Linked DNA regions of Homo sapiens: region 1 is linked to region 2. The links are contacts of gene promoters, found by promoter capture Hi-C in human tissues and cell types (Jung and others, 2019). All regions are on one chromosome and are shown on one strand. The core of a region is centred on a gene start or on the middle of the fragment in contact, and the rest is flanking DNA. Distances in the headings are between cores, read along the strand shown.

Region 1 (2,982 bases), core at 305-2,804, 52 kb after region 2:
CTGGAGGTGGTAACAGCTCCCCACTCTGGGATGCCTAGGTTCTTGCTCCATCTTGTGGCTTCCCTAAGCCTGTTCACACCTTTGCAGAGAGTCCCTATATTATGAAATCTTGCACTTACCCATTTTTGGGTGTGCCATCTGTTGCTTGCTGGGAGCCTACCTGATACATTGCTGTTGAACTGAAATTTATCATTTTCATGCAATTTCACAAATTTTTTTTGGCTTTTTGGAATGTGCTTCGGAGGCCTTATTTAACAAGCTCTTCAGCCGGGCGCGATGGCTCACACCTGTAATCCCAGCACTTTGGGAGGCCAAGGTGGGTGGATCATGAGGTCAGGAGATGGAGACCAGCCTGGCCAACAGGGTGAAACCCCGTCTCTACTAAAATTCGAAAAATTAGCTGGGCGTGGTGGCGCATGCCTGTATTCCCAGCTACTCAGGAGGCTAAGAAGGGGAATTGCTTGAACCTGGGAGGCAGAGGTTGCAGTGAGCCAAGATCACGCCACTGCTCTCCAGCCTGACGACAGAGCAAGACTCTGTCTCAAAAAAAAAAAAAAGAAGAAGAAGAAACCCTTCTATACTCTTAGTAGTATAGATTTTTCTTTCTTTCTTTTTTCCTACTAGTTCTGTAATTTTATGTTATATGTTTAGGTCTTCAATCTATCCAACATCCACCTTTGCCTGTGATGTTAGGTATGAATCCAGTTTTACTTATCTTCATAGAGTGAGCCAGTTTTCCCAATAATGTCTTTCTTCTACCAATTTGAGATGTTACCTTTATTGTATATTAAGTTCCCATGTAGGCACAGTTCTGTCTCTCGGCTCTTTATTCTATAACATTGGTTTATCCGTCTATTCTTGTATCATTACTGTGCTATTTTTATTACTATGGCTTTGTAATATATTTTAAAGTCTAATAAGGCTAGTTCCCCCTTCCTCCAATTTCTCCTTTTTTTCCCATATTGACTTTTATCTTGCCACATATATTTTTTTTAAAGTTGTTGCATTGCTTTTAAAAATCCAATTGAGGTCGGGCGCAGTGGCTCACTCCTCTAATCCCAGCACTTTGGGAGTTTGAGGCAGGTGGATCACTTGAGGTCAGGAGTTCAAGACCAGTCTGGCCAACACGGTGAAACCCCATCTCTACTAAAAATACAAAAATTAGCTGGACGTGGTGGCGGGCACCTGTACTCCCAGCTACTTGAGAGGCTGAGGCAGGAGAATCGCTTGAACCTGGAGGCGGAGGTTGCAGTGAGGTGAGATTACACCATTGTACTCCCACCTGGGTGACAGAGGGAGAATCCATCTCAAAAAGAAAATCAATTGAAATTTTATTTTTATTGCGTTGAATGTATATGTTAATTTGGAAAGAATTTAAGTTTCTTCTTGTATGTTCTTCATGTGTTATTGTGGTGATAGACTAATACACCTGCCGAAGCCTCTTATTAGGTCGAATTGTTTGTTTGTTTGTTGATGGTGTTGATTTTCTGTATAGGTGAGCATATTGTTTTATCTCTTCCTTTCCAATTCTTACAACTTTTAATGTCTTTTTCTGTCTTGTGCAGTTTGGCTACCATGCCCAGGATGATGCTGAACAGCAATAATAGCACTATAACGGAGGCTTCTAATTACCCCTAATACCAATTATCCCCTTCTTGCTACACCAGAGGTCCAGAAACATCTCCTATAAAGGGCCAGATAGCAAGTATTTTAGGCTTACCAGGTCATACAGTCTTTATCATAACTACTCAATTCTGCTGTTGCTGTGGTCATAAATGACATGTAAACAAACAGGCATGGCTGTGTTCCGATAAAACTTTATTTACAGGCCGGGATCCGTGGCTCATTCCTGTAACCCAGCACTTTGGAGGCGAAGGCGGGTAGATCACTTGAGCACAGGAGTTCAAGACCAGCCTGAGCAACATGGTGAAACCCCGTCTCTACAAAAAAATACAAAAATTAGCAGGGTATGGTGGCTTGCGCCTGTAATCCCAGCTACTTGGGAGGCTGAGGCAAGAGGATCACTTGAGCCTGGAAGGCAGAGGCTGCAGTGAGTCAAGATCCAGAGGCTGCAGTGAGTCAAGATCACGCCGCTGCACTCCAGCCTGGGCGACAGAGCCAGACCTTGTTGCAAAAAAAAAAAAAAAAAAAAAAAAAAAAAACTGGCCAGGTGTGGTGGCTCACACCTGTAATCCCAACACTTTGGGAGGCTGAGATGGGCAGATCACCTGAGGCCAGGAGTTCGAGAACAGTCTGGCGAACATGGTGAAACCCCGTCTGTACTAAAAAAAAAAAAAAAAGAAAAAATACAAAACATTAGCCGGGCATAGTGGTGCACGTCTGTAATCCCAGCTACTTGGGAGGCTGAGGCACGAGAACTGCTTGAACCTGAGAGGTAGAGGTTACAGTGAGCCGAGATTGTGCCATTGCACTTCAACCTGGGCAACGGAGAGAGACTCCGTCTCAGAAAAAAAAAAAAAAATAGAAAAAGAAAGCTTTATTTACAGAAGCAGGTGAGGGCCAAAGTTTACTGACTCCTTCTCTACAAAATAGAATCCTGTGTTTTTAGCAAGAATGTGGCCTCATGGAATAAAGTTCATTTCTCAGCCCCATTTGCAGCTATCTGTGGCCCTGGGACTAATTCTGATCAAAGAGATATAAAGTGAAGTGATGGAAGTGTCTGCATAGACAGAGAGAGAATGCGCCATTCTCCTTCCCTTTTCCCCTTTCTCTTGTCCGGAATGTGTCATAACAGGAGGGGCAGACATCTTGGAACATGTGATGGAAGCCACAGATTGAAACGATGGAGCAACAACGTAGAAACAGCTAGAGTCCAGAAAGATTTCATCATAAATCAGAGCTGAACTTTTGCTGAGTGTTTTTTCTGCATTGTGTAATTGTTTTCTTTTGTACACATTTAATCTATTTTTCTGTACTCTCTAAATCTATTATATTAACAGATTTTTCTTATGTTAAATCATC
Region 2 (2,700 bases), core at 103-2,602:
CACACAATACACACACACAACACACACACAACATACACAACGTACACACACACAACATACACACACTCATACACAACATACATACACACAACATACACACAACATACACACACTCACATACACAACATACACTCGCACAACATACACACATGCACAAGATACACACACAACACACAACATACACTCACACACAAGATACACACAACATATACTCACACAACATACACACACAACACACTCTCACACACAACATACCCTCTCACATACACGACATACACACACACAACATATGCACGCTCTCGCGCACATATACACACACACAACATTCACTCACACACACACACAGAGTCCCAGCTGAATCTGCATTCCTCATATGCACATACGTGCACACGCACATACGAGGCACATGTGTTCTTGGGTTGGGAGGAGAAGGGCAGGCAGTTATCTTCCAGATCTCCCCACACCTCTGGCACATGCCTTTCCTGGGGTCCTGGGGTAGACAGGAAGGTGAGGTGAGGGAACAAGCGGGGGTGTCGGGCCCTCCTCAGTCCCTGTTCACAGAGTGGGTGCGGCAGAGACCTCAAAGGGACAGAGCAATCATGAGCTGAGACAGAGGGGGAGCAAAGCCGCAGAAACTGCACACTTGCCTTTCAAAAATGGATTTCCTCTCCTGGGATTCAGCCTGCGAGTGCCTGGCCCCTCACCTTGATGGAAAGGATGGTCATTTTCCTCCGAGCTCAGCTGCTGGATATCTTGAAAGTCCTTGGCCATGATGGGGCCCGGGCTGGAGCTGGAGCTGGAGCTGGGCTGGGCTGGGCTGAGGTTGCTCTGAGGGCTGGGGCTGGGGCAGAGGTGCAGATTCACGTGGAGGTTGATGGTGGGATGGAACGCAGGGTCGGAGGGGTTCGGGGTGGTGGCCTGGGTAGGATCTGAGGTTGGCAGGGCGTTTGGGATGAGGTTTGAAATCCCGCTGGGTCCTTTCCCTTCTCAGGAGACCGCTTGGGCCTTGACCTGGCCAGGAGACCCCTCCCCACGCTCATGGACCCGACCACCCACAGCTTCCCATGGGGTCCTCCCCATCCCTGAACCAAGGCCTCCTTGTTCCCAAGCATCCTCGTCCCAGTTGCCTCCCCAGCCTCAGTTACCTGTGAAAGGTGTGGAGAGCGGACACCTGGCTCCCGCAGGCAACCCTGGCCTTGGCCAAGGAGGGGTTAAAGCCAGGAGAACTGGGGCAGGTGGAGCTCACAGGGGAGAGGAGAGTGGAGGAGGGGCTGGTCCGGGCAAGGCCTGCACTGGAGGGTCTGAGTGTCCAAGCTCTAACCTGGCACCTCCTGGCCTGGGACTTTGGACAGTAAACAGAAGAGGAAACAGAGCTGTAACTCATTTGTGGGGTGGGGGCAGGGGACGGGGCTATCTCTGTTCTTATTCCCAGAGAGGGGGGTCCCCTGGGCTGCGCTCAACTCCACACGCCACTCACCCCACTCATTGCACCATTTGGAAGGGGTGCCAGGCCAGGAGGGGCTGGGGTGCAGTTTGCCGTTTCCCTCTCTCCCTCCCCCTCTCACTTCCTGCCTCCGAATTTACCAGAACTGTGGGTGTCTCCAAATATCCCTGACCAGGATCACAGCGACCAGTTCTCTACTCTTGCCCAATCCGGCATCTGAACCACAGACCCCAGCTTCCTGTGGGCTCGGCCACCAGACTCTCAGCTCTGGCCCAACTCGCTTCACTCTCCTGGAGAGTAAAGCCTCTCAAATCCAGAAGCTTCAGCAGGAGGAGGAAGGGGCTTTGCAGAAAAACAGCTCTCCTCGCAGGAGGAATCCAACCTCAGAGAGCCCCGTCCGGCCCAGACCCTGCCCCAGCCCAGGCAACACAAACACTGTCCTCAGGCCCAGCCACTGCCCTAAATTCTCCAAGGTGTTTCTTCATTTATCACAGCACAACACCCCCACGAGGCAGGACTTCTGTTACTCCCATTTCACAGGGTTCGGAAGCGGAGCCTCGGAGAGATGAGGCAACTTGCTCTAGGTGGTGGCCCAGGTGAGTAGAGAAACTGGCAAAGCAAAATGGAGTAAAGAGGGGAAAATAACATCATAACAAAAGGTCTGGCCGGGCACGGTGGCTCACGCCTGTAATCCCAGCATTTTGGGAAGCCGACGTGGGTGGATCACCTGAGGTCAGGAGTTCGAGACCAGCCTGGCCAACATGGTGAAACTCTGTCTCTACTAAAATACAAAAATTAGCCGGGCGTGGTGGCAGGGGCCTGTAATCCCAGCTACTCAGGACGCTGAGGCAGGAGAATCGATTGAACCTGGGAGGCGGAGGTTGCATTAGCCAAGATTGCGCCATTGCACTCCAGCCTGGGCAACAAGAGAGAAACTCCATCTCAAAGAAAAAAAAAAGAAAGAAAGAAAAAGAAAAGAAAAGGTCTTCATGGTCCTACGAGGAAGACTGGCTTCCATGAAGCAAGGAACGTGGCTGACTGTCTACACTTGCGCTAACAATAGCTCGGGAAAGAAAACACAGTTTTTGTGCATGATTTTCTGACCCTCACCAAACTTGGGCGGATGGCTACGGGCAGGGTTTCTTATAAAGCTGCTCGTTTCCCCGGGTGCCGAAAAGGAATTCAAACAGAGGCCTTTTCTGTTCTTGTAACTTGCTGACCCACATGGGAAGTAGCCACCCCCCCAGTACCCTGAC

What was found. The method cuts DNA at HindIII sites, captures the fragments that hold promoters and counts their contacts. A contact is called where the count stands out against the background at its distance.
Region 1: a contact is called between a fragment that was not itself captured here and the fragment with the promoter of ASGR2 in region 2, in 1 of the 25 tissues and cell types used here (IMR-90 fibroblasts).

The regions. Positions count from the first base shown.
Region 1 is chr17:7,165,243-7,168,224 of GRCh38, forward strand. No RefSeq gene overlaps it. Among named protein-coding and RNA genes, the nearest start is that of ASGR1, 13 kb to the right of the region's middle. The HindIII fragment of the contact is 4,369 bases long and covers 1-2,982 here.
Region 2 is chr17:7,113,470-7,116,169 of GRCh38, forward strand. ASGR2 (asialoglycoprotein receptor 2) reads right to left here and starts at 1,353. Exons shown (of 9, transcript NM_001201352.2): 1 at 1,146-1,353; 2 at 648-841. The coding sequence starts at 771. RefSeq lists an enhancer at 1,505-2,291. The HindIII fragment of the contact is 7,513 bases long and covers 1-2,700 here.